Linked DNA regions of Homo sapiens: regions 1, 2, 3, 5, 6 and 7 are each linked to region 4. The links are contacts of gene promoters, found by promoter capture Hi-C in blood cells and fetal thymus (Javierre and others, 2016). All regions are on one chromosome and are shown on one strand. Each heading gives the region's core, a stretch centred on a gene start or on the middle of the fragment in contact. The rest is flanking DNA. Distances are from core to core; before and after follow the strand shown. Region 1 has its middle 16 kb from the start of C1GALT1. Region 2 overlaps C1GALT1 (core 1 synthase, glycoprotein-N-acetylgalactosamine 3-beta-galactosyltransferase 1). Region 3 has its middle 35 kb from the start of C1GALT1. Region 4 holds the start of GLCCI1 (glucocorticoid induced 1). Region 5 overlaps C1GALT1 (core 1 synthase, glycoprotein-N-acetylgalactosamine 3-beta-galactosyltransferase 1). Region 6 holds the start of LINC03016 (long intergenic non-protein coding RNA 3016). Region 7 overlaps LOC105375138 (a long non-coding RNA gene).

What was found. Contacts are between HindIII fragments. The CHiCAGO score rates a contact against its expected background, and 5 or more counts as called.
Region 1: a fragment that was not itself captured here is called in contact with the fragment with the promoter of GLCCI1 in region 4 in 8 of 17 cell types (naive B cells, non-activated CD4 T cells, activated CD4 T cells and 5 more); the score reaches 10.4 in naive B cells.
Region 2: a contact is called between a fragment that was not itself captured here and the fragment with the promoter of GLCCI1 in region 4, in 4 of 17 cell types (neutrophils, naive B cells, monocytes and 1 more). The highest score is 6.6, in neutrophils.
Region 3: a fragment that was not itself captured here is called in contact with the fragment with the promoter of GLCCI1 in region 4 in 4 of 17 cell types (erythroblasts, non-activated CD4 T cells, monocytes and 1 more); the score reaches 7.6 in erythroblasts.
Region 5: a fragment that was not itself captured here is called in contact with the fragment with the promoter of GLCCI1 in region 4 in 1 of 17 cell types (neutrophils); the score reaches 8.0 in neutrophils.
Region 6: a fragment that was not itself captured here is called in contact with the fragment with the promoter of GLCCI1 in region 4 in 8 of 17 cell types (neutrophils, naive B cells, naive CD8 T cells and 5 more); the score reaches 10.2 in neutrophils.
Region 7: a fragment that was not itself captured here is called in contact with the fragment with the promoter of GLCCI1 in region 4 in 4 of 17 cell types (monocytes, total CD4 T cells, neutrophils and 1 more); the score reaches 7.4 in monocytes.

What each region holds. Positions count from the first base shown.
Region 1 is chr7:7,164,289-7,168,002 of GRCh38, forward strand. It overlaps a transcript of C1GALT1 not described here. Among named protein-coding and RNA genes, the nearest start is that of C1GALT1, 16 kb to the right of the region's middle. The HindIII fragment of the contact is 190 bases long and covers 1,294-1,483 here.
Region 2 is chr7:7,230,237-7,234,011 of GRCh38, forward strand. The region is part of intron 1 of C1GALT1 (core 1 synthase, glycoprotein-N-acetylgalactosamine 3-beta-galactosyltransferase 1); the gene reads left to right. Among named protein-coding and RNA genes, the nearest start is that of LINC03016, 23 kb to the right of the region's middle. The HindIII fragment of the contact is 2,751 bases long and covers 134-2,884 here.
Region 3 is chr7:7,145,267-7,149,401 of GRCh38, forward strand. No RefSeq gene overlaps it. Among named protein-coding and RNA genes, the nearest start is that of C1GALT1, 35 kb to the right of the region's middle. RefSeq lists a cis regulatory region at 3,523-4,000. The HindIII fragment of the contact is 650 bases long and covers 2,480-3,129 here.
Region 4 is chr7:7,967,076-7,970,873 of GRCh38, forward strand. GLCCI1 (glucocorticoid induced 1) reads left to right here and starts at 1,721. Exons shown (of 8, transcript NM_138426.4): 1 at 1,721-2,732. The coding sequence starts at 2,276. GLCCI1-DT (GLCCI1 divergent transcript) reads right to left here and starts at 1,677. Exons shown (of 5, transcript NR_110018.1): 1 at 1,469-1,677. RefSeq lists silencers at 1,544-1,693, 1,904-2,303, 2,384-2,443, 2,534-2,613 and an enhancer at 3,094-3,183. The HindIII fragment of the contact is 4,760 bases long and covers 716-3,798 here.
Region 5 is chr7:7,204,196-7,207,949 of GRCh38, forward strand. The region is part of intron 1 of C1GALT1 (core 1 synthase, glycoprotein-N-acetylgalactosamine 3-beta-galactosyltransferase 1); the gene reads left to right. Among named protein-coding and RNA genes, the nearest start is that of C1GALT1, 24 kb to the left of the region's middle. The HindIII fragment of the contact is 6,450 bases long and covers 1-3,754 here.
Region 6 is chr7:7,253,800-7,257,736 of GRCh38, forward strand. LINC03016 (long intergenic non-protein coding RNA 3016) reads left to right here and starts at 1,355. Exons shown (of 4, transcript NR_108073.1): 1 at 1,355-1,379. The HindIII fragment of the contact is 9,696 bases long and covers 1-3,937 here.
Region 7 is chr7:7,108,369-7,112,548 of GRCh38, forward strand. LOC105375138 (a long non-coding RNA gene) reads left to right here. Exons shown (of 5, transcript XR_927009.3): 5 at 1,075-2,907. Among named protein-coding and RNA genes, the nearest start is that of MIR3683, 43 kb to the left of the region's middle. The HindIII fragment of the contact is 4,408 bases long and covers 125-4,180 here.

The DNA.
Region 1 (3,714 bases), core at 139-2,638, 800 kb before region 4:
TTCCTTACACCTTTCTTCATTTCTCATGTGGAACATTAATGTTAACGGGTCTATGATGTATGAAGAGCTAACTCTAAGTAAGCAGAAGTAAGTCAAATTCTATAACCTATTGATCTGAGATACCTAAAAAGGAGCTTGGATTTCAGGAGGATTGGGATACAGCTCTCCTCTTGCTTTACATTTTGCCATAGGCTGGGTTTTCCAGAAAACAGACTCTGAAATGGAGATCAGCATGTAGAAAGTTTATTAGGGAAGACTTTTAAGATCAGCACCTGTGCATGGAAAGAGACAGAAGCAGGATTGGACAGTGGGAAAAGTTGAGCTGTGATATAGTCTTAAAGTCCTCAGTCAACCCGACGAGGAACTCTGAAGGTGGAATGGCCCTAAAGAGTATCACAGGTCAGGGAAGGAAAGCTCTATTTTTAATACCCCTATGTTGATCAGTCATTGGATGTGGGTGCCTGAGGGGGCATGGCTTTAAGTTGTTTGCACCTGAGGCAGTTCCCTGAGAGGGCTGTAAGCTGAAGGTCATCTGCTGGCAGCACTCCCAATAGTTGTGGAAATAAATCTTTCTGTCCTGAAGGAGGAACAGGGCAAACCATTACAGTGTTCACCTTGGGTTTGCTGCCTTTGATTGCATGTAAATATTATTTTGTATTATTTAAGATGTGTAGGGTGAGTAAAATGCCCTAGAAACCCTAGGAAAGATTAACCTTGCCTGTCAACTTTATTCATTTATGTGTTTCTTTTAGATTTGAAAGCCTCAGAGAAGGACCAAACAGTGCCTGAGAAGTTTGAATTTAGAATAAAAGGTTGGTCTGGCATTTTTATGTGAACAGAACTAGAAACCACAGTAGCCAGGAAGAGAAGATGGCCAGATAACTGAAAGACAGAAGGCAGGTTAGGAAGGAGCTCAGGCCAGGTTGTGCCCACCCATCTGTGTTAGAAGATGGTGATCCTTGTGCAAGCAGATATGGAACTAAATAAAGCCCCTTTACTCACTGTGGTGGGATTATGTGGAATAAAGCACGCATCTAGGAGCCTTGACTATTTTTCCATTGCTTCCTTTTACATAATTATACCCATTTAATTTATCCTTTAATTTTTGTGAATGCATCACTCTATTTCAGTTACGCTAAGGGAATAAGAAAAAAATTGTGTCCATATTTGGATTAAAGAGAAAAGACAAACATCATATCCATGGGGTGCAGATGAGACAGGTGTAGGAGAAATCAAAGTGAGAAAGATTAAGAGGACGTTTCAGTGTAGGAAGCTCTAGATGCAAGAATTCAAAGCTTTCAAGACAGGAAGAAAGAGTCCAGAAAGGCATGTACTGCTATATCTTTTCTCATTTCCTTCTCCGATATGTTCCCTTTCAGGAGAAAAAAAAATGAATAGTTGTAAGCACCAATTTATGATCACATGGTACCAGTTGAGCATCTGTAATCCAAAAACCCAAAATCTGAAATGGTCTAAAATCCAAAGCTTTTTGAGCATCAACATGATGCTACGAGTGGAAAATTCCACACCTAATGTTATGTGATGAGTCACAGTCAAAATAGAAAAACTCATTTCATGCACAAAATTTTTGAAAATATTGTATAAAATTACCATCAGGTTATGTGTATAAGGTGCATATGAAACATACATTTCATGTTTAGACTTGGGTCCCATCCCAGAGATATTTCATTATGTATATGCAAATATTCCAAAAGTTCAAAAACTCTGAAGTCCAAAATACTTCTGGTCCCAGGCACTTGAGATAAGGGACACCTGTACCAGGCGTGTTCACGTTCTCTCATTTACTGATAACAACCATGTGAAAAAAACGTATATTACTGCCATTTTATCATGAGAAAAACCAAGACTCAGGGAGAATAATTAGGTTTCCTAAGCCCACACAATAAGTGATGGAACTGGGAAGAGAGTGTAGCACAGGTTTAGGGTGAGAAACAATTGGATTAAATGTCCTTCAGTATTTGAATGAATACAAAAATTGTGGTATATTCTTATAATAGAATATTACTGAACAATAAAAAGTAATAAACTATTGATAAACATAACAATATGGTTTAATTTCAAAGTAACAATGCCAGTGAATAAAACCAGATATGAAAAAGCACATAATGTATGATATCATTTTTATAACTCTAGAAAATGCAAACTAATCTCTATTGACAGAAAGCAGATCAGTGGTTGCTTGGAGATGGGGCAGGGTGGGAAGTGGCAGGAGGAAACTTTTGGAGGTGATAGATACATTCATTATCTTGACTGCGGTGATAGTTTCATGGGTGTATACATATGTCACAACATCAAATTATGCACTTTATGTATACTTATTGAATGTCAATTATACCTCAATAAAGCAGTTAAAAACAACCGGGTTGAAATCCGTGTTATACTATTTACAAATTGCTTAATCTCTAAGACTACATTTTTTAAAAATCAGTTAAATGGAGTTGCTAATGCCTACCACAGAGGGTTGGTGTAAACATTAAATCAGTAAGGCAAGTGCTTAGCACACTGTGTAATACAATAGTAAGCATGCCGCAGTAGTTATACAAGGAGTCCTAGACTGAGTTCTTCCTTCTTAGAGCTTTCTCCACTTTAACTAATCATGTTAGTCCTTTTTATTTACAGCTGGAATTCAAACACATCAATCTTACTTCAAAGACCAAGATCTTTCCACTAAACTGTGCTAAGCCATGACAAATTTTATGATTTGAATTGAGGAGGGCATGCCCTGATTGGACACCAGGCTCAGAGTATTCCACATAAATGCTCCTCTGTATTACCCCAGGGTCTGGAAAAGTCACTCTGGGCCAGGGAGGAAGACCAGTGGTTCAGCTGCATATTCTTTACCTATACTCCTTCAGATTCTATCTCTGCTCCTTTTTCAGATCCCTACTGGCTAAACAGCAATGAAATTGCTTATGCAGTGTACAGATAAATTGAGAGCAACAGGTCCTGTTTCTCAGGAGTTTGCCCCGAATGGCAATCCAAACTAGACATAATATTGGGAGAACAGCATTCATTGAGATTAACTGACTTACTCTTTATGAAACATTTGCTTTCCTGGATAAAATAGTGTATTAAGAATGTTATACATTATGTATTAAAAATGTTATACTGCACATTACACATCACATATTTAAACTACATGTAAATTTATAAAATATATAAACAATGATAAATCTCCCATGTTTATTTTCTAAAGAATACTGTTAAGAGTAATACATCTTTAATATGTCCAATCAAGATGCCATTTCATGGAATTATGTAAGTTTTTTTTGTTGTTCATTTTTTTTTTCTCCAAGTGATAATCATTGAGAGGGTCTTTTCAAGCAGAATCTGTGGTATGCTGACATCTTATAAGATTGTCCTTGGACATTCCAATTCACCAAAATTTGGACCCCCTGATACTACAGCTCTTTTCTTGGCCTACTACCCCCAGGCCTCTTCTCACAGCGCCCAGTCCCTTATTCTCCTGAGACTGTTGTTTCTCCTCTTTTCTCACCCTCTCTTTTCCTACTCCTATGAAGCAGCAAAAACATTCTCCTAGACTCAGAATGAGCAGCTTAGTCCTTGTCTCTGAAGGCTTGGTTAGCTTCGGCCTTATGGAATCCTAAGAATCTTACCTTCTACTCCATTTTTTTCAAGGTTTTAAATTTTCTTTCAAAGAAAGACACTGTTCTTTCTTAGAGAAATTCTGAT
Region 2 (3,775 bases), core at 259-2,758, 740 kb before region 4:
ATGGGTTTTTGTATACACTTTTTACTGAAATAAATGTTAATACAGAAAAGTATGTAAAATCATAAATGTAGAGCTTAATGAATGTCACAGAGAACAAGCCATGTAACTACTAGTTTTTTTTGTGGTATCAATAAGCTTTCCTTTAATTACTGTTTGTATGGTATATTTTTCTATTATTTTGCTTTCAACTTTATAAATCTATTTAATATGTGTCTCTTGTAAGCTGCATGTAGATGAGTTTATTTTTCTCGAGTCTGGCTGGCAATCTTTATTTTTTAATTGTAGTTTTTAGTCTATTTGCTTTTAATATAATCATTGATATGTTTGGTTCTAAATCAACCACCTTACTATTTATTTTCTATTTGTCTCATCTATTCTATATTCCCTTTTTTTTTTTTTTTTTAACATTGCCTTGATTTGGGGTATTTTCCCATTTCATTTTTTTGTATTTGAATTTAATTATATTGTTTTACTGTTTGTTTGTTTAAAGATTATATTAGACATCCTTGGTCTTTTAAAGGCTATTATTAATCAGTTTTTTTTTTTTAAACAACTCCTGGACAGTGAAATGACTTTAGAGCTCTTAAACTCTATGGATCCTCCTTATACTTTTTGATGCCAGTTTTGTAATTTGTTTTAATGGTAATAATACTAATATCTTGTGAGACTTTCAAAAAATGTTTTATTATAGCCAATATTTATTTGGATTTACTTACATACATACCCTTTTTATGACTCTCCCTTCCTTCCTACATCTCTGAATTTTTATCTGAAATTCTTTTCCTTCTGCCTGAAGAATTAGAAATAGAACTGTTAGTGATAAATTCACTTAGGTTTTGTTTTTCTGAACATGTTTTTAAGGCTCATTCTTGAAGGACATTTTTGCTGGATACAGAATGCTAGGTTGGTAGTTCTGTTCTTTTAGCACTTTAAAAATAGTTCACTGCAGTCTTGATTCTGTTGTTGCTGCTAAAAAGTCAGCTGTCAATCTTATTACACCTTTGAAGTTTTTTTTTCTGTCCTTGGTTTTCAGTAGTTTGACTGATGTACTTAGGTAACATTTTCTTTTTCTTTGTAATCTTCATTGGGTTTTGTAGATTTTTAATGTGAGGGTTGGTACTGTGTCAGTTTCGGAAAATATTCAGTCATTATTTCTTTAAATACCACTTCTCCTGAGTTATGTCTCTTCCCTCAAAGGTTCCAGTTAACACTTACATTAGACCCTTTCACTTTATTCTGTTTTTTTGCTCAATTCTTTTTCAATCCATTTGTTTTTCCATACTTCATTCTGCGTATTTTCTTCTGACCTAGCTTTTTAGGTTATTAATTTTTTTCTTCAGCTGTGACTATTCTATGCCTAATTTCTTAATCTTGCCATTTAATTTCTTGACTTTATTAAGAATAGTTATTTCTAAGCTAAAAATATGAAAATCTTATTTGAGTCTTTTGGCTCTGTTTCTATTGTCTACTTTTTTGTGTTTAGCCGTAATTTTCATCTTGATGCCTGGTTGTTTTGGACATTGTGTATCAAAATTTTGTCCATGTTGTATACCAAAAAAAAAAAAGTCGTCATGATAATTTGAGGTTCTTCATGATTTTATATTTCTCCAGGAGAATATTTTTACAGTTAGGCTAGGGCGGATCATCCAGTCAGTGGCTGAGATGACTCTAACGTAGACTTCAGCCGTTGTAAAGATTGGTCTATTTTTGTTTTGTTCTTATTCTCAGATTGTAGCCTTTCAGAGTCCTTGATAAGAGCATAGGTGTTTTTCAGGACCTCTTCTCCTAAGCAGACTTTGGACATTAATTTTTGCTTAGCTTTATTGCCCTTGCTGTTTTCTCTTTCAGAATCAGTCATTGTCTTGAGGATAGAGCAGTGCCAGATGTCTGGTCTGCCTCTTTCCTTCCTTCTTCCAGATTTTGGCCCTACTAATTCTCACTGCCTTGATATCTTACCAGTGTCTTCAAACACATATTTATATTTTTTTACATTTTGTTCAGTTTTTCTGATTGCACTTGGTTGTACTAAAAGAACCTAGTCAGCCATTCCAGAAATACATGAAGTTGTTTTGTTTTTATTATTGTAGTGGTGATTGTTGGTTTGTACTTTTGCTTTCACAAACTATTTCAAAGCAATTTTGATTTTTAGGGTTATATTTCCCAGACCTCTACTTTCACTGCCCATTGCCCTCTGCTGTTAGTGGTGATTAGGTGAAGAGTTTGAGAAATGTAATGGAAAGGGCGTGGGTTTTTTTTTTTTGTTTTTTTTTTTTTGAGACAGAGTCTTGCTCTGTCACCCAGGCTGTAATACAGTGGCATGATCTCGGTCCTGCAGTCCTGCCTCCCAGGTTCTAGTGATTCTTTTGCCTCAGTCTCCCAGGTAGCTGGGATTACAGGCACGTACCACAACGCCTGGCTAATTTTTGTATTTTTAGTAGAGATGGGGTTTCACCATGTTGGCCAGGCTGGTCTTGAACTCCTGACCTCAGGTGATCCACCCGCCTTGGCCTCCCAAAGTGCTAGGATTACAGGCGTGAGCCACCACGCCCAGCCGGGCATGGGCTTTTTAAGCACACAGACCTACATTCAAACTGTGGCTCCTTCTGATTGTGTCAGCCTATATGAATTAATTACCTGTTTAAAATTACCTTTTTAAAATTTCTCTTTCCTCATCTGCAGACGGGTTTAGTGAGAATGAAAAAGGACATTGAAATTAAATTTTATTTAAAATGAAATAATGTATGGACAGCTTCTGGTATATAATAAATGCTTAGTAAACTTATTTTTTTAATTATCTTGAGGAATAGGAAACTAGAGTTAAGACCAATCTTTTAAGGAATTTAATAGAAGTTTATAACTTCACCATATAGTAATTGTTAACAAAAGCTTAAAAAGGGCGTTTATGTCAATGTTTGGTTGTGGGGCAGTTCAACAGGCATCTGTGTCCCAGGTACCCTACTTAATCTCGTTAATATTATAGATTCCATCCAAAATCTAGATCTTGCAGTATAGAGCAGAGGTCAGCAAACTTTTTCTTTTTTTTTTCTGAGATAGTTTCACTCTTTTGCCCAGGCTGGAGTTGAGTGGTGCAGTCTTGGCACACTGCAACCTCCGCCTTCTGAGTTCAAGTGATTCTCCCACCTTATTCTTACCAATTCTTCCCAAGTATTCACCTTATTCTTCCCAAGTAGCTGTGACTGCAGGCATATGCCACCATGCCCAGCTAATTTTTTACCATGTTGTCCAGGCTGGTCTCAAGCTCCTGACTTCAAGTGATCCACCCGCCTTGGCCTCCCAGAGTGCTGGGATTACAGGCATGAGCCACTGTGCCTAGCCAGCAAACTTTTTCTATAAAGGGCTAGGTACGGTTTTGTGAGACATATTGCCTCTATTGTAGCTATTCACTCTGCTGTTTTAGGGCAAAAGTAGCCGCAGTCAGTATATAAATGAATGGGCATGGGTGTGTTCAAATAAAACTCTATTTACAAAAACAGGTAGCAGGCCAGGTTTGGTCCATGGGTCCTCAAACTGTGCTGACCCTAGTCCTCCACAAGCTACAAGTGTTTTTTTACGTTTATAAAGGATTGTTTAAGAAGAAGATGCAACAGAAACCACATGAGACCCAAAAAGCCAAAAATATTTTATTTCTAGTTCTTTACAGAAAGGGTTTGCTAACTTTTGGGTTGGAGAAGGGGTGGTGGTTGCTACCAGAGAAAAAGAAGTAGACTTCCGTACTCAGAGTTAACAGCAAAGAAAGAAAAACAACACGACAGGA
Region 3 (4,135 bases), core at 1,555-4,054, 820 kb before region 4:
GCTCCACCCAGTTCGAGCTTTCCAGCTGCTTTGTTTACCTATTCAATCCTCAGCAATGGTGGCTGCCCCTCCCCCAGCCAGGCTGCCTCCTTGCAGTTTCATCTCAGACTGCTGTGCTAGCAGTGAGCAAGGCTCTGTGGGTGTGGGACCCACTGAACCAGGCACAGGATATAATCTCCTGGTGTGCCATTTGCTAAGACCATTGGAAAAGTGCAGTATTTGGGTGGCAGTGTCCAATTTTCCCGGTAGAGTCTGTCACGGCTTCCCTTGGCTAGGAAAGGGAAATCCCCCAACCCCTTGTGCTTCCCAGGTGAGGTGATGCCCCGCTCTGCTTCGGCTCGCCTCTGTGGGCTGCACCCACTGTCCAACCAGTCCCAGTGAGATGAACCAGGTACCTCAGTTGGAAATGCAGAAATCACCCATCTTCTGCAACAATCATGCCGGGAGTTGCAGACTGGAGCTGTTCCTATTCAGCCATCTTCAATGTTTTCCTGACGTTCCCTCTGTTTTAATCTTCACAACAAAAAGTCACCTGCAGCCAGGTGCGGTGGCTCACACCTGTAATCCCAGCACTTTGGCAGGCTGAGGCAGGTGGATCACGAGGTCAGGAGATCGAGACCATCCTGGCTAACACGGTGAAACTCCATCTCTACTAAAAATACAAAAAAAATTAGCTAGGCGTGCTGGCAGGCGCCTGTAGTCCCAGCTACTTGGGAGGCTGAGGCAGCAGAATGGCGTGAACCCAGGAGGCAGAGCTTGCAGTGAGCCAAGATCGTGCCACTGCTCTCCAGCCTGGGTGACAAAGCCTTGGTCTCAAAAAAAAAAAAAGTCGCCTGCAGTAAGCTGATGTCAGTCAGTTATATTTCTATTTTTCTGTCTCCCTATTCCTGTCTTATAATAAAAGTAACTTTAAAATGACTGCATTTTGTTCTTTGTTTCTGTTTTCTTCATCCCTTTCTGTGTGTAAAACCAAACCCTTCTGCACATCTCAGTGGAACACTTATTTTATGGAACGAAGTGTCGTCCTATTCTAGAATTGCAAATGAAGCCAGTTAAACCAATAAATATCTCAGTTAAGATCTTTATCTAAATTGATTGTACTTTTTTCTTTTGACATGAGCTAATTGTTTTCTGCTGAGAAGGTTTTGCAGTTTGCATTGTGGGCCATTAAAGATGCTGCCTATCTGAGCTGCTTTACCTGCCTGAATGGTAGGCTCAATGGCAACAATGACAAATCATACACATTTTTATCTTTCTTTATCAAAAGTCTTTCATTTTTCTTTTGTATCAACTACATTATCAACTCTTATAGGAAATGTTTTAGCTACATATATGAAAGCAATCAGTGACTCTGAACCCAGGACGTATTACCATTATCCAAAAGAAGGCTGTTTGCTTAAAAAGTTCCTTTGATTAAAAATGTCTTGTAGCTTGATAACATAAGCCCAAATCACCTTAATAAAATTACATTGCTCTCTTACTGATGCAGGTAGGGTACCTCAATGACTTTCCTCATTGGCCTGGCCTGTAGCTAGTTTACAATTTTACAAATGCTTTTCTAAGAACAACTGACAGGCAAACCACACATTTAAGTCCATGCTAATAACCAATTGTAAGCATCTTCCTCAACCTTATGGTCAAATTTACAAAGCAATCGTATTCTTGGCATCAGTGGGAACCAGTTGGAAAGATCTTTTTGAGGTACATCATGCTGGTTCTTTTGAGTAGGAAGAGGCTGGGTTGACCACATATATCATAGACCACCACTTCCCTCTTCTTTGGACCTGGAGATTGGCTGTGGCAGTGAGTATTCTGAGAACTGTTCCTCATGGGTTCTATGTCGTGGATAATTACTATTGCGGGCAGCAGTTTACACCCTCATTCTGGTTCACATGGGGCCCACAGAACCTACTGGATTCTCCATCAAGCCTGCACTGAGATTCTGCACAAACTCCTGTTATCATTGCAAAGAGTTTATCTCCTCTCCTTTAATCATATTCAGTATTATTTTTTAGTCCCCTTGGGCATTTGGATCATCCCTGGTGAAAACTGAGATTCTAATGAGTAGTACAATTGTCATTAAGAATTTCTTATAGGAAGTATTCGAATTTCATTACAGTATTTGGACTGAAGCAGCATTAATGTCAGATGAGTGCCCTCACCCTGTTATCCTCAGTCTGATATGTACCAGTGTGCTCTACTCTGCCCCAAAGTCCCATATGTGGATTTAGTACTACATATGGCTTTAAATACCATCTATTCACTGATGACTCCTCAGTTTATGTTTCTAGCATAGGCTTCTCTTGTGAACCCCATATTTACAAATTCATCTACCCACTTGACATCTTCAACTGCATGTCTAATAGGCATCTCAACTTAATGTGCCTAAAACAAATTTGTAATCTTTCCTGAAATATGTTCCTTTCTAAGTTCCCCCATCTCAGTAATAAATAAAATCTCTCCAGTTGTGTAGGTCAAAAGCTTGGAATCATCTTTGACGCCTCCTGCTCTCATATACCCCACATTTGATCTATCAGCAAATGCTGATGACTGTGCCCTCAAAATATATCCAGAAGTCAATGACTTCTCATCCCTTCCTTTGGAGCCAACCTAGTCCAAGTTATATTACCTTTTGCGATAGCCTCCCAATTGATATCATTGCTTCTGATTTTGCCCCACCACAAAGAGAGTCAGATCATGTCACCCCTCAGCTCAAAACCCTCCAATGTCTCCTCATCTCACTCAGTGCAAAGTTGAAGTCCTTTCACAGGCCTACAAGGCCCTACATGATTCTCAGGTACTTCACCTATTTCAAATCTCTTCTTCCTTCATGCATCTTCAGCCTCACTTATCTCACTGTTCTCCCAAAATACAGGATATAGGCCCCTCTGGGCCTTTGAACTTGTTACTCCCTCTGCTATAAATGCTTGTCCCTGAGATGGTCACATGTTTTTCTTTGTAACCTCTTTTAGGTTTTTCTTCAAATGTGCATTTCTCAGTGACCACCCTATTTAACATTACAGCTCCTGCTTGCAGCACTCTCTGCTTTTTTTTTTTTCTCCATTGCACTTATCACTATCTGACCTCGTGATTGTTTATGGTGTTACTCTCCCCACCCACCAAAATTTAAGCTTTATAAAGGAAGGAATTTTTGTTCTCCTGCTTCAAAGGTCTAACCCCAGATCAAAAGCCTGGCCTATACAGCTAATCTTCTGTATCTGTGGGTTCCACATCCATGAATTCTACCAACCATGATTAAAAATATTAAGGAAAAAGTTCAAAATAACAGTACAATAAAAATAATGTAAATATAGTATTATAATTATTTACATAGCATTTACATTGCACTAGGTATTACAAGTAATATAGAGATTATTTAAAATATACAGGAGGATGTATGAGGGTTACATGCAAATACTATGCCATTTTATATAAGGGTCTTGAGCATCTAGAAATTTTGGTATCCTGCAGTGGTTCTAGAACCAATCCCCCTCAAATACTGAGAAAAGACTGTATTAAGTACTCAAGAGATCTGCATTGCATGATTACCACAGCTGTCAGTAGTCTCTGGTGAGCATGAGTCTCCAGTGTGTTTGCTGGTGAGTAGGCTAGGGTGTGACAGGTCCTTAAGACAAGTGGAATTAAAGAACCTGACAAGAAAACATACAACTGCTCAGAATTCTCCTCCTGGAATGCCTGGGAGGTGAAGGAGACCAGAATGGCAGCCTGCCTGATGGGGTGACATCTCTCCACTCCCACAAGCAGCCTCAGGAACACAGGGCTGGGTAGGCCTCCTTATCTGGCCATCACATGGGGTATGAAGTAATACTCACTCACAAGAGTTCTTTTCATTGTACCCAGATCCTGACACTTCCTGGGCCTCATGCGAATCCCCAGGACCCCACCCCCTCTCCTTTAGACCCTTGGGCACAAAAAGTTCTCCCGTTTCTCCGAAAACAGAATTCCACTACCTTTGAGAAAGCTCCCAGAACTTAGAAAAGCCAGTTTATCCTACATGGAGGGTAAAAGGCTCTGGAATTAAGAAACTCTAAAGAACAAAGACCTTCTTTTATCCTATCTCAATACCTGTACTGTGTGTGTGTGTGCGTGCGTGTATGTGCGCACATGGGCGCAA
Region 4 (3,798 bases), core at 471-2,970:
GAAAAGTCACTGAAAAGAAATCATTTATCATTCTTTTTACACACAAAATAATGCAGTTTTTAAATTAATGAGATAGGCCATTTATATAAAATTTGAAAGAGTAAAGTTTTTATTCATAATTAAAATATATGTTATTCTGGAAAACAAAAAAAAAGTAGTGGTCTGTCTTCATTTGTAAAATTTCCTTTGAACTGATGGGAACTTATCTCACAGATGAGATTTGTGGGCCATTGTGAATACTCTACAGATTATGTACCCCACAGCTTTGAGCTGCCAGGTACTATAGCAGAGTGCTTCCTCAGACTCTTGAGCCAGTCTGTCTGGGTGAAATTTTTAGCTCCCCATATACTAACTATGTGATCTCAGGCAAGACAGCTTATTTATGCCACAACTGAGACCACAGTAAGGATAATAATAGTATCTACCTTGTGGATTATATGAGGACTGAATGAATTAACACACATAATGTTCTTAGAATAGCGGCTGGCACATGGTGAATAAATGTTAGCTCTTATTATAATATGTGGTAAACTGAGGAACTATCACTAGTTTTACTTGGATGAAGTACTGCATGAAATTTTTGTATTTTTATTGAGTTTCATCAATTTTTTTACTGAACCTAGTATGCTTTCTCGTCTGAACACACAAGGAAGAAAAGAAGGATGGCTCCTGTACGTGAAAGTGACCCCTGCATATAGTGCCTGAAATCAGAGGAAGCTTGTCAGTGTGGGCAGACACCACGAGCAGACCAATTTGACATTGTGCTTCTCTTTTAACCTCTTGAAAATTAATGAAAGTTATCTGATGAAGATCCTTACATTAATTGCTCCCGATTAAGGTTTAAAACCTTGGTTTACTGTGGGGTAAATTTATGTTTTTGATAGTCATCCAAAATCTTTGTACGCTTTCAGTTTCATTACAGAATAAAAAACAAATTTACCACAATGGATTATTACATTACATCTGGTATTTATTCCTCCCAAGAAGCTATCTGCTTCGGAAAAGCCAGGGGCGCCCTTCATTAATATATCTAACTGATGGTGTAATGACATAAAATTCCTTGTTGACCCCTGCTATTCAGTGTTATTGTCTTGGAACATAGAACTTGATAATCTCTTTTCACTGCATAACTACAAATGTTAGGCTGTAAGAGTATTTTACTTTGTTCAGTGCAGGTTCCAGACATTTCTCCTGATCACCAGAAGTTCTTTTGATTAATAAGGCTACTGGTCACGAAAACTCAGCTTACTAAAAGAGATCCAGTCTTCTGGTTCTAACTAAAACATCCCACCGGATGCAGGTGTACTTGCAAATTAAAGTTTGCCTCATGTGTCCTGTGTCTCAAGTCATACAGACGGCCCAGGAGGGTGGAGCCCCTGCAACCTGCCTAGCGGGGCGTTTGCGTGTCTGGGGGTGTCGGGACACGCGCAGGACACACACAGTCCCACTTTCCTAGTCTCGCACTTACCTCAAGGCTGTCAACTTTTACGCTCCTCCCTGCGCGCACAGCCCCCACCTCACGCTGCCACCCCTCACGCCCCGCCTTCAAAGTAGGAGGCACCATTGTCATTGGACACTGCTTCTCTCACTCCTATTCCAGAACCAATCACTCGAGTTCTAGTGGGGAGCGCCTAAGCCAATGGAAATGCTCGCTGCGGCAGCTGCCGGGTCCTGGGCGCTGGGAGGCGGTGCCGGGGGCGGGGTGCGGCTGGGGCGAATTAGTTGCCATTCGGAGTGAGGAGTGGGTAGAAGCGGCGGCGGCGGCGGCGGCGTTTGCGGTGGCGCGGACTCCGAGGAGCGCCAGCACCTCGAGGCCCTTTCTCTCTACCCTGGTCCCCAGAAGCAGGGGTCCCGGCCCTCCTTGCAGCTGCCGGGTTCTCCCGTGCGTGCAGCCCTGCGAGGGCTGAGGAGAAGGCTGCGAGCGGCCCTCGGGGCTGCGTGATCCGGGCCGTTGCCCTGTCAGCACGATGCCTGGAGCGGTGGCGGCGGCGGCTCCGGGCTCCTTGCGGCCCCGGCCGTGACCGCCACACCGAGCCCAGCCGGGCGGTTGCGGCCGTTGGACGTTTGTTTTCGCAGCCTTCCCCTCCCCCCTCGCCGAGGCGGCGGGGGTGTGCGTTGGGGAGGGGGAGCCCCGAGACTCCTCCCCCACAGCGATACCCCCGCCCCTCCCCCTTACACACTCGCACGCACTATCGCGCCGGCTCCCACACGCTCGCGCGCCTCCCGCCCCGCGCCTCCGTGTCGGCCGGCGGCGTCCAGGGCCCGCAGAGCCACCATGTCCACTGCCTCCTCCTCCTCCTCCTCCAGTTCCTCTCAGACCCCTCATCCCCCGTCGCAGAGGATGAGGCGCAGCGCCGCGGGGTCCCCGCCCGCCGTCGCCGCCGCCGGGAGCGGGAACGGTGCGGGCGGCGGCGGCGGCGTGGGCTGCGCCCCGGCTGCGGGAGCCGGCCGGCTGCTGCAGCCCATCCGCGCCACGGTGCCCTACCAGCTCTTGCGGGGCAGCCAGCACAGTCCCACGCGTCCGCCCGTCGCCGCTGCCGCCGCCTCGCTGGGCAGCCTCCCGGGGCCCGGCGCGGCCCGCGGCCCCAGCCCGTCCAGCCCGACGCCGCCGGCGGCCGCAGCCCCGGCCGAGCAGGCGCCGCGGGCCAAGGGCCGCCCGAGACGGTCCCCAGAGAGCCACCGGAGGAGCAGCTCACCTGAGAGACGGAGCCCCGGCTCGCCCGTGTGCAGAGGTAGCGAGCCCAACCCTCCCGTCCTCCCGGGCTGCGTCTCCCCGACGGTGCCCTCCGTGGAAACTTCAGCCTCTTCGGGCTTCTCTTTGCTAGTGCATTATCGAAGGTGTGAAAGTGGCTTTGGGAATCTCACCCCCCTGCGGTCGCTGTGGGGCTTGGAGGAGCGAACTGAAAAGCGACTTTTATTTGACCCTCATGCCGCCCCTCAGAGTCTCTCTTCCATCACTCGCCTGCTTCGAGAGGTTTTTCAGTTTAAGAGCTGGCTAGCTCATTCGTGTGTTTGCCGTTTGTAGCCGGGGAAGGAGAAGCTGGGCGAAACACTTAACACGCACACAAACTCTTCAGCAGCGGATAAGGTGGCGGTTGTAATCTCTACCGTCTCTTTGTGCTTTTCTGCAAAGTTCCTAACGTGCCTGTAACTACCGGGATAGTATTTTATTTTTTAGAGGGTTGGTGGCATTAGTTTCGATGTAAGGATATCGGCTGGATGTAATGATATCTGCTAGAGGGGACAGTTTTGAATGTACAATTGAAGTGTATACGGTTTTTTCCCTCAGTCCTCCCTCTCTCCCTCTCCCCCAGCCCCCCGCCACCCCGCCTCTCTCTCTCCCTCTCTTTCTCCCCCTCCCCTTTATATATTCATGCATCAGAGCACTCCTGCACTGGAAACAGTTTGTGCTCTACCGGAGATTTTCATGGTAAATTTCTGAAAACTTATTTGTGGAACGTGTTCGTTTTTTTCCTTCCATTTTTAAGTACACTTAACAGTTCAGTTGAGCTGTTCAAGGATCTCAAGTTTCTTTTTTTGTTAGGTGTCAAAGGTAATGGTGAGCTGGTGGATGCTGTGGGTTTCCCTTAGTGTTTTCTGTTTTGCTTTGGTTTTGTTTATGTCTAGGGACACAGTGCATGATTTAGTTGAGCCCTGGGGGAGAAAAGGAAGATTAGCCAAAACAGGGACTTAAAGCTCATAAGGGAGAGTGGAATAGCTAATATTGTTAGATACCGAACTAGAGCTACAGATGCTGCTGCTGCATTGTGGAGGGAACAGATCATACTGGGTGGAAAA
Region 5 (3,754 bases), core at 1,113-3,612, 760 kb before region 4:
CCATCATGTCCAGGGCTTTTCTTTGTTGGGAGGTTTTTGATTACTCATTCAATCTCCATACTGATATAGGATTTTCAGATTTTCTGTTTGTTATTCTGTTTCAGTAAGTTTTGTGTTTCTCACAGTTTTTCCTCATCTAGGTTATGCAGTTGTTGACATTCGGTTGTTTATAGTATCCTCTTATCATCCTTTGTATTTCTGTGAAACTATTAGCAATGCCCTACTTTCATTTCTGATTTCAGTAATTTGAGTCTTTTCTTTTTTTCTTAGTCTAGCTAGAGATTTATCAGTTTTGTTCCTTTTTGAAGAACCAACTTTTAGTTTCATTGATTTTTCCATGTTGCTTTCCTGTTTCCCATTTTGTTTATCTCTGTTCTTTATTGTTTTATTTCTTCTGCTAGCTTTGGGTTTAGTTTGTTCTTTTTCTGGTTTTTAAAGTTGTAAAAATAGGTTCTTGAATTGAGAACTTTCTTTTTGTTTCGTGTGTTAATAACTATAAATGTCTTCCTTAGCACTGCTTTATCTGTGTCCCATAAATTTTCTTATGTTGTGTTTTTCGTTTGTCTCTAAGTATTTTCTAATTACTCTTGTGATTGATTCTTCGCCCCATTGGTTGTTTGATTTCCACGCATTTGTGAATTTTCCATTTTCCTTCTTTTATTGATTTCTAACTTCATTGTATTGTGCTCAGAGAAGATACTTTGTATGCTATCTGTCTTTTAAAATCTATTAACACTTTATTTGTGGCCTAACATGGTGTATCCTGGGAAATATCCCCTGTGTACTTGAGAACAATATGTATTTGGTTATTGTTAGGCAGAATGTTCAGTCTATGTCTGTTAGACCAAGTTGGTTTATTGTGTTGTTCAAGTTCTCCATTCTGTGTGGTTCTGTTAATTATTGAGAGTGGGGTACTGAAGTCTCCCAACTGTTATCATAGAACTATTTCTCCTTTCATTTTTTTCACCTTTGGTTCGTTCATCTCAGTGGTCTGTTATTAGGTATGTAAGTGTTTATATAGCTGACCCCTGAACAACACAGAGGTTAGGGATGCTATCCCCCCCACGGAAATCTGCATGTAACTTTTGACTTTTCTAAAGTTTACTAATAGACTGCCGCTGGAAGTCTTACTGATAATGTAAGCAGTTGATTAACACATTTTATATATGTATTATTTACTGTGTTCTTATGATAAACTACAGAAAATAATGTATTAAGAAAATTATAAAGGAGAGAATTTATTTACAGTTCATTAAGTGGAAGTAGATAATCATGAATGCCTTCATTCTTGTCGTCTTCACATTGGGTTGAGGAAAAGGAAGGATTGGTCTTGATGTCTTCTGGGTGGCAGAGGTAGAAGAAGATGCACATATAGATGGACCTATACTGTTCAGACCCATGTTGTTCAAGGGTCAACTATAATTGTTATATCTTTTGCTGTATTGAATCTTTTATTAATATATAATGTCCTTCTTGTCTTTTGTAACCTTTTTTGATTTAAAGTCAATTTTGTCTGATATTAGTATGGCACTTCTGTTCTCTTTGTTCTTGTATGAATGGAATATCTTTTTTTCATGCCTTCACTTTCACCCTGTTTGTGTCTTTGGGCCTAAAGTGAGTCTTTAGTAGACAGCATGTAGTTGGATGATGTTTATCAATTCTGCAAATCTCTGCCTTTTGATTAGAGTTTAACCATTTACATTTAAAATCATAAGGAGGAACTTCTGTCATTTTGCCATTTTTTTCTATGTGCTTTGTAGCTATTTTGTCCTTATTTCCTGCATTACTGTCTCATTTCTTTTTGTGTGTATTCTATAAGCTATTTTCTTTGGTTACTGTGATGATTACACTTAATATTTAAAAATTACAATATTTATACCAGCTTAATTTCAGTAACATAAAAAAATTATGCTTCTTTACAATTCCATCCCCACCACTTATTGATGTTGCAGAATTATATCTTTATACATTGTGTGTCAAAAAATATAAACTAATTTTTTAATGTGTTAGTCTCAAGTTATGTAAAAAAATGTGGAGTTCCAAAGTTACAATAATACTAGAATTTATAATTGCCTATGTATTTACTGTCACTGCAATTTTTATTTTTTCATATAGCTACAAGTTATTATCTAGTATTCTTTTGTTTCGACTGGGAGAATTTTGCTCTACAGAGCAGGTCTTTTGGTAATAAACTCTCTCAGCTTTTTACTTGAGAATGTTTTATTTAAGAATGTCTTGAGAGGCTGAGGCAGGCGAATCACCTGAAGTCGGGAGTCAAGACCAGCCTGACCAACATGGAGAAACCCTGTCTCTGCTAAAAATACAAAAAAATTAGCTGGGTATGGTGGCATACTGCTGTAATCCCAGCTACTCGGGAGGCTGAGGCAGGAGAATCGCTTGAAACCAGGAGGCGGTGGTTGCAGTTAGCCACGATCGCGCCATTGCACTCCAGCCTGGGCAACAAGAGCAAAACTCCGTCTCAAAAAAAAAAAAAAGAAGAGAATGTCTCAGCTTTTGTTTTAAAGGACGGTTTTTGTGGATGTAGGATTCATGGTTGGCATTTTTTTTTTTGTTTTATTATCTTAATTATATTGGCCTATGCCTTCTGTCCTCCAAAGTGTCTGATGAGAAATCTGATAATTTTATTGAGGACTGCTTATGTGTGATTAGTTACTTCTTTCAGCTTTCAGGATTTTCTCTTTGCCTCTTAGTGGTTTCATTATAATATATTTTGCTGTGAGTCTCCTTGAAGTCATTCTACTTGGAGTCTTTTTCAGCTTCTTAGATGTTTATATTCATGCCTTTTATTAAAATTGGGATTTTCAACCATTGTTTCTTCAAACATTTTTTCTCTCTCCATTACTTGGGACTATGACAGTGTTTATGTAGGCCTACTTGATGGTGTCACAAGTCCCTTAGGACCTTCACATTTCTTCAGCCGTTTTTCTTTGTTTTCCTAAGACTCAATAATTTCAATTGTTCTCTCTTCAAGTTCACTGATTCTTTTTTTCTTCCTGTCTAGATCTGCCTTTCAGTCTCTCTAGTGGATTTTTAATTTCATTTATTGTACTTTTCGGCTTCAGAATTTTTGTGTGTATCCTTTTAGGTTTTCATTCTCTGTGTTTCTCTTACTCTGTTGCTTTTTTTTTTTTTTTTTTTTTTTTTTTTTTGAGGTCTCACTCTGTTGCTCAGGCTGGACTCAAACTCCTGGGCTCAAGCAATCCTCCCATCCCAGCTTCCTGGGTAGCTGGGACTGTAGTTGTGCACACTGTGCCTGGCTCAGATTTTCCATGTCTTTATTCATATTTCCATTTTGTTCATACATCATTTTCTTAACTTGGTCCACATTTTCCTTTAGTTCTTTGAGCATTTTTCAGAAAGTTGTTTTATAGTCTTTGTTTAACAGATCTACCATCGGGTCTTTTTCAGGGACAATTTGTTAGTTTATTTTCTTTCTTTTAGTGGGCCATATTTTTCTGTTTCTTTGTATACCTTGTGACTTTTTTGTTGAAAACTGGATGCTTAAATTTAATTTAATGTGGTAATTCTGGAAATTAGGTAGTATCCCTTCCTCAGGGTGTGCTTTTTTTCTTTGTTTTTTTTTTTTAATTGTTGCAGTCTCTTTGCCAAAGATCAGTCTGAGATTTTGTACAATTAAGGTATTTTCAGGTCTTTTCTGTGCCTGTGCCTTAAGCTGGATATGTAATACAATAGTCCCTCTTTATCCCTGCTTCCACTTTCTGAAGTTTCAGTT
Region 6 (3,937 bases), core at 243-2,742, 710 kb before region 4:
GAGTACTCGGAAGTTACTATTTATTCTCAAATCCTTGTGTCAGATTATTTTCATATCTTTCTTAGATCTGTTCTGGCTTAAGTCTTATTCTCTTATTCATGGAAATAGAAGACACTGAGCCCTTTCCCACATAAAAATATAGGACTACTGATTTCTAGAGCTTAAAGATGTTCTAACGCCTCGTTTGAAAGATTCAGAAACAGATCTAGAGATGTTAAAGTTTAGAAAAATGACACAAATAATGCCAGAAGTGGCAACAGAACTCAATTTTCCTGACTCCCAGGTTAGTGGTCTTTGTACTAAATGCAATTTCTTATCTTCCCTGAACAACCTGAGCTATGTACTTTAACAAAATTTTTTGTGGGTACATAGTAGGTGTACGTATTTATAGGGTTCATGAGACACTTTGATACAGCCATGCAACAAGTAATAATCACATCATAGAAAATGGAGTATCCATCCCCTCAAATATTTATCCTTTGTGTTACAAACAATCCAATTATACTCTTTTAGTTATTTTTAAATACACAATTAAATTATTGACTATAGTCACCCTATTGTGCTATCAAATACTAGATCTTATTCATTCTTTCTGTTTTTCTTTGACCCATTGTACTGCTAGATAGAACTCACATATTTGGTCCCTGCCTTTTCCCACCATTTGCAAATAGATTCTAGGAACGATCCTAATAGTTGCCAGGCACTGTTATCAGAGATCAAATCTGTCTTGTTTCCAATTGTGCCTGGGACATAATAGGATTTTTTTTTTTAAATAACAAAGCCATGTGTAGTGCTGCATGCCTGTTGTCCTAGCTACCCAGAAGGCTGAAGCTCAGGAGTTCAAGTCCACCCTGGGCAACAAGACTCCATCTCCACAACAAAAAAGTTTAAAAAGGTTACTATACGATTACTATACATTGTATGTATCAAAATATTACTCTCTCCCCCATAAATATGTACATTATATATCAATTAAAAGGAAGTAAATGGTGAGCATCCTTTCACTATGAAGAAAAGTTCTCCATATGCCCCCTACTTTCTTCTGTTTCATTTTTATGGAGACCTCTAAACAAAATGCTTTTCTCATAGATATGGAGGGACTCCTAAACAGGTTTTCTGCTTGAGAAAATCTTGATTTGAACTCCACGTATCATACACCATCAGGCAAAAAACCTCGCATTTACGTTGGAGAATACAGTCCAGAAAAAGAACAAAACCTCAAGTGTGGGCAGAAGATTGTGTGTATTTGCTATTAGGGAGGAGAGCTCAGGTTCCTTTTCTCTACAGTGACCATTAGACATTCCAAAGCACTGTCACTTGGTGTAGCTCAGTGCTCTTGGTTACTGAAGCAACAAGTGATCTCTGATGACAAAACAAAGGTAGGGTCGTGCCTAACACTGGTAAGGAGAAAACTGTGTCGAGTTAGTTAATAATTAATTTACATGTCAAGTTACAAGTTTTCTATCCTAAAATCCAAAAAAAGCAACAGCTCTTTTTTTTCCTCCAGTCATTAAATCACCCATTCAACAAACTTTCACCAGGCTCATGGTTTGTCAGCTATAGAAGAGAAAGGAGGGCGAAACCTGTGGTTAAGGCTTGCCTGAAGGATCTCACATTTGGGTTGGGGGCTGACATGCCAGTGAACAAATAGCCTCCTCAGGACTATGATAGAGGTATTTACAAAGAACTATAAGAGGACTGTATATTAAGTGTTTAGGGATCTGAGAAGTTTCAAAGAAATTGTGGCATTTGAACTGGATTTAAAGAATAAGGCTCAGGTACAACTTCATGTGAAAGAGTCGATATATTCACAAATTTGCCAAAGCCCAGTTAACTTCAATTCTTCGAGAGTTCCAGTTTTTTCCCAGGTGCAGTCAGTGTACCATTTTTTTCTGAGACCCACAGCCATTTTCTTTCATTGGCATGTTTTTAGGTTTATTTTTCAATAACTCCAGTACCCCTGAAATTTCCTTCCTTAGATCTTGAATAAATATATTCAAGTTGGGCATTACTGCATGGTTTGAGGATAATGTCTTTCCTGTTAAAAATATTTTTAAGTTTTTATACAAAGGTAATGTATGTGCTTGGTAAAAGAGAATGAATATAAAATGAAAAGCTATAATCTGCTACAGCCCCACCCAGCAGTCCCTTTGTCCAGCCATAAACAGAAAATAACAGAACTGTACTCATTTCCAAACTAAACACATCATTCTGCTCCTTGCCTTTTCTGCTTACTGTTTAATAACTTAGAGATAATTCTTTTTAATAGTTAACTAGATCTCTGTATGGATGTGCCACAATTTTTAAGCCATTCCTCTATTGATAATTGAGTTGGATACTTTTATTATAATTATTGCTGCACTGAACATCCTTGAAATGATTGTGTGGGTACAGCCATAGGATAAGTTCCTAGCAAGTAATTGCTGAGATAAAGAATGTATGCATTTAAATATTCATAGATACTGCCAAATTGCCTTCTTAAACTGTACTGTACTACCTTATACTACTACTCAACATTTGCGAGTATATTTTCCTGCCCCTTTTACCAAAGTTTTTGATTATTGAACTTACTAGTTTTATCACTGCATTAATATCTGATAATTGTTGATTTGTACTTAAGGTTTGAGTTTTTTTTATACATTGGTAATTTGCATTTCATCTTCGCCAGTTTTTAATATTGAATTACTAGGGTTTTTAAAAATTTTTATAAACTCTCTGAATATTGGTTTATTTATATGTATTAGAACTGTTATGATTATTTCGTACTTGTTTTTTCCCCACACAAACCAATTAATCTTTTCTTAGGGCTATTGAATTGTGTGTCTTGCTCACACCAAGGTTTATTTATAATATGCTTATGTTTTCCTCTTACTTTCATAGTTTCATTTTTTGTGTTTATATTTTTGATCCCTCCAGAATTTATTTTCTTATATGGAGTGAGGTAGGAAAATGGCTACCCGTTTGTTGTAATACACTTTATTTGACGATCCTTTCTTTCAACATTTATTTTAAATCACCATTACCCCATGATATTTCATTATCGGTTTGTGTATAAACTGTATTCTGGTCTGCTTATCTGCCTATTTCTTGTGCAGTACATTGTTTTAATGATTTCAGATTCATAACACTTAATAACTGACAGAATGAATTACCTACTTAAACATTTCGTACAGACACTGTGGTGGATTCTGCTACATATCATGGCATTATGCCATGAATGCTTTCCAGCATTACTGGCAGAAATAGCCACCCTTAAAATATGCCCCTCGTGATCCTCAGCGGTTCCCAGGGTACAGTGTAATGTGTACCCAGAAATGGGTTGCCCTCTTGCCCATTCCTGGGCTGCCTCCTAGGGACAGTGACTCCAGTTAACTTGCTGCTTCAGTGGGCACTACCATCTTCTGCTGGTGACTTCTGTCATCTTGTTTGACCCTGGGGAAAAGACTTATTTTCCTCTTTGTTGCCCACAGTAGAGACCAGACTTTCCTGACCGTTCCAGAATAATGAAAGAAAGGGTCCAGATAGTACTTTATGAGAGCGGCCAAGCTCCAGTGGAATCCTCTCCACCCTTACCAGGCTACTGCTCTGCCCTCTTTGCTACCTGTTTCCAGGTCACCAAAGGTAGTTCAGCTACCCCACTAGAAACCTTCAGTTATCAGCACTTCTTTAGAATTGGAGCCAAATTGACATCTGCACTAAAAGAAATGAGGAAGGTTTCCACTCACCTAACACTCTGGACACCCTCCTCCCAAAATTCCTGCTGAACCAACCTCTCCCCTGGGAAACTGGCAGTGAAAACATTTAGTCTTTTCAGAGGAAATTACACCTTTACTCAGAGAAACGTGGTCTGGATTTTGGATCTGCAGCCCCAGTAAGAGAATTGCCTAATGATCTGGTATCAGTTAGTACAATCAGGCCCTTCATATCTGTGGGTTCC
Region 7 (4,180 bases), core at 1,079-3,578, 860 kb before region 4:
ATGAATGACTTATTTTACAATGACCTGTGATCCTATTTTATGATATCAAATGTTTAAAACCTTTGATATTTGACAAACTTTCCAAAATCAAATTATAAATTATGTCTTTTTCTGACCTAATTAAAGCTTTAACATATTAGGTTCCCTAAAGTTCAGAAAATAACATAATTTGGCTTATTTGGTACAAAAATCATATAGGAAGCATTGTCAAATATGAAATGGTGTTGGGTTTTTGAGGGCTGCATTTTTAAAATATGTTATTAGTATGTGTTCCAAAATTATGGGAAATTCCTATAATTCTATATAACTCAGTGTACATTATCAGTAATAATCATAATTGTTATGTTAAAATTATTGTGTGCCGCAGAGGTAACAAATGTCCTTTTCAACTGTGTTTTTGACTATGGCTGTCCTAAAACTTTTTGTCATCCATGGACAATTTTTGTCTTGTTTTGGTCCTCTTTAGAAGGTGGCTTTATAATCAGCTACAAAACTCTAACAGGTGCTCTTGAATGCAGGTTTCTGATAACTTTGGAGATTGTGACATCAGAATAGAGGAAAAACTTTCAGGACTCATGGAGAGCTATAAAATATTCATGAGTATCAAGCAGAACAGGAATTAACTGCATGGACTGAACTGATCTTTTTGACTTTTTGCTTAAAATGTTGCTGATCTTTTGTTTTGCTTTTCAGAGTCTTAAAACTTTTCTTTTGAGCTATTGGCAGCTTTTAACAATTTAGTATACTCCCATAAACAAAGTTTGGAGCATATTTGTTTCTCTTTAGCTGATTTCTCCAGAATTTGGAAACTATTTGTAAGTATTCTTAACTCATGGCAATACAGTTATTTGCATAAGTGCAATAAGAATCTGTTTTCATTAATAACAGACCACAATTGGAGAAACTGCTTATTTTACCAAGGCTTTGACTGGAATGGTGTGCTTTCGTTTAAGGAATCAAACTTGACTTATGGAGCCAATAAAGCCCTTGAAAAAATTGGCCTCATATTTTGTGTACACAGTCCCTGTACAGGGTTTCTGACCTGTGGTAAGTAAAGAATGTCACTTCTAACAGGCGTAGAGGCCCCCGGTTTATCTTGGAACCTCAAGAGGAGAGAAAATTCACCCAACTCACAGGTATTTGATGGCACAAATCCATGGCTGGGCTCTGCTTTAAAAACATCTTATCTGGTATTCCTTCTATGGAACAAGGTTCCATCAAAGCCAATATAAAGCCTATGTAAAAAATAATTTTTTTTGCACTGTATATAAGTAATTAGGCCAAGTATAATAAAGCAAACCAATCCTACCATGATTTGTCTTTAGCAAAAATGGGAAACTGGAGAGAGAAAAATTATGTTTCAAAAACAATTGTACACCTGTTGTTAGATTCTAGTCTTGTCTAATGTTTTTCAATTTTTATTATTTCTACAGTTTGGGCTAAATTCTAATTTTCTCTTGACTACAAGTCTTCAAAATAATGTTTTCAATTTTTTTTTTCTTTTTTTTCCTTCTTTTTTTTTTTTTTTTTCAATTTTTCCTAACTGGGAGTCACTGAAAACCAAGCTGTGCTTTCTTAAAGCCCTGCAAACTGAAACTAGACAACTTAAAGTTCAGAAGAAAATAACAGCCACCTATTTACATGCATAAGCCACTTTCATACCTGCTACTGATTTATAGACTTCAGAGTAGTGGGGCCTATATTGATTTTCCAGGAGTGTTCTTTTGTTTGTTGTTTTTCTCCCTTCTTCTTCCACTATTTGCTCTTCTAGGAATAAACCATCCTAGCCATGAAAGATCAGGTGAAACCTGAGACCAGAGACTAATTTTCTAGTTAAATGCCATCTCCAAAATATTTTTAAAAAGAAAAGAGGGTAAATGTGAAAGGAAAACAAATCTTGAGGCCCCCAAATCACTAAGCTAAAGGGAAAAAGTTATGCTGGGAACTGCTTAGGGCAAATCTGCCTCCCATTCTATTCAAAGTCACCCCTCTGCTCACTGAGATGCATAGCTGATTGCCTCTTTTGGAAGGACTAAGCAGAAGCTCAAAATAATGCAACCCTTCCTGTCTCACCTGTCTTTTTACATATATTGACTGTACTTCTTATATATATTGATTGATGTCTCGTGTCTCCCTAAAATGTATAAAACTAAGCTGTACCCCAGCCACCTTGAGCACATGTTGTCAGGACCTCCTGAGGCTGTGTCATGGGGACATCCTCAATCTTGGCAAAATAAACTTTTAAATTAACTGAGACCTGTGCCAAATTTTCAGAGTTCACAGGAAGAAAGACAACCCTCCTTTATACGTTGCTCTGGGCCTCTGCATTGCCTGGATGGGAACTCTGGGATAGATGCTTTTAGAAGGGTCTACTGAACCCATGAGCCATTCCCTTCTCTGGAAATGGCTCCCCAAGTAATAGCTTGGGCTTCTAGGAATCCTGTTGGTAGTCTGTAACTCCCTACTCATCTGGATATAGTTAATTGGAAAATTTGACCTAGTTTGAGCTAATCATTTTTCTTCTCAGGAATGTGGAATCCAGACCAAAGGAAAGCCAGCCAGTCTATTTTCATGGCTGTTAGGTACAATTTGTATGCTTGGGAGCTGTGGAGTTGCTGTATTCTGTCATAAGGGCAGATCAGCAGAGAAAGCTAAAGCAAGAGGAGAATAGTAACATGGACACAAGGCAGAAATGCAGAGATCAAAGATGGAAAGAGAATATATCCCAGATTCCTAATGGCTTTCCAAAACTGATCCCCTTCTTTCTTGTTCCCCAAATACTGCCCTCTTCATATGGCCCTTAAATTCTTGTAATAAATTCTCCCTTCTTTGTTTAGGCCATTTCAAATTGGTTTCTGTTTCTTGCAACCAGACACCTTAAAAAAAATAAACTCAAATTTTCTTTCATGCTCCCTTTTTGCATGGTAATTAAGAGCATAGAATGTGGAGTAAAAGAGATAAAACTTTAAATTTCAGCTCCTTCATTCACTAGTTGAAAACCTAGTAGAAAAACTTAATCACTTAAACTCTCTGAGCTTTAATTTCCATATCTGGAAAAGGGGAATACTTTTAGCTATCTAAAAGCATATGGGTGTCAAACAAATATAACGACGTATATAAAATGCTAATTATAGTACCTGGCACAAAAGAAATACTTAATTAGTGGTAATAATGATTACATATTTATTCAATAAATACTTATCGATTACTAACTATACAAAAGTTAGATGACCTGAAGTGTACAAATATATTCAAGATTTAATCTCTGCTCTCAGACATGTACATAAATATCCATAATAGAAGACATTATAGAATAATAAAGGGTACATGAATGTTTTTAAAAAACAAGGACTCTAGGTCATAATCAAAGAAATGCAAATTAAAACCACAGTGCAATGCCATCAGAATCAGAAAAATAAAATAGATTAAAGGCCGGGCATGGTGGCTCACGCCTGTAATCCCAGCACTTTGGGAGGCCAAGGCGGACGGATCACGAGGTCAGGAGATCGAGACCATCCTGGCTAACATGGTGAAACCCCGTCTCTACTAAAAGTACAAAAAATTAGCTGGGTGTGGTGGTGGGCACCTGTAGTCCCAGCTACTCGGGAGGCTGAGGCAGGAGAATGGCATGAGCCCGGGAGGCGGAGCTTGCAGTGAGCCGAGATCACGCCACTGCACTCCAGCCTGGGTGACAGAGTAAGACTCCGTATTAAAAAAAAAAAAAAAAATAGATTAAAGATTTTTCTAATTTTTAAATTCTTTTTCTTTTTAAACATTTTTAATGTAGAAACAGGGTCTCACTATGTTGCCCAGGATGGTCTCGAACTCGTGGCCTCAAGCAATTCTCCCACCGCAGCCTCCCAAAGTGCTAGAATTATAGGTGTAAGCCACCACATCCAGCCAGTTTAGAGATTTCAAGTAATAGTGAGGATGTTGAACAACTGGAATTCTTGTACATTAATGGTGGGTATGTAAATTGATATAATCACTTGGGAAAACTGTGTGGCAGTATCTACATATGCATACCCTATGACCCAACAACTCTACTCTTACCTCTATACACAACAAAAGTGCATACATACTTTCACCAAAAGAAATACATCAGAATGTTAAATGTAGCAAAAAGCCAATCGACAGATGCATAACTAGATTGTGATAGTATGCACACAATGGAATACTG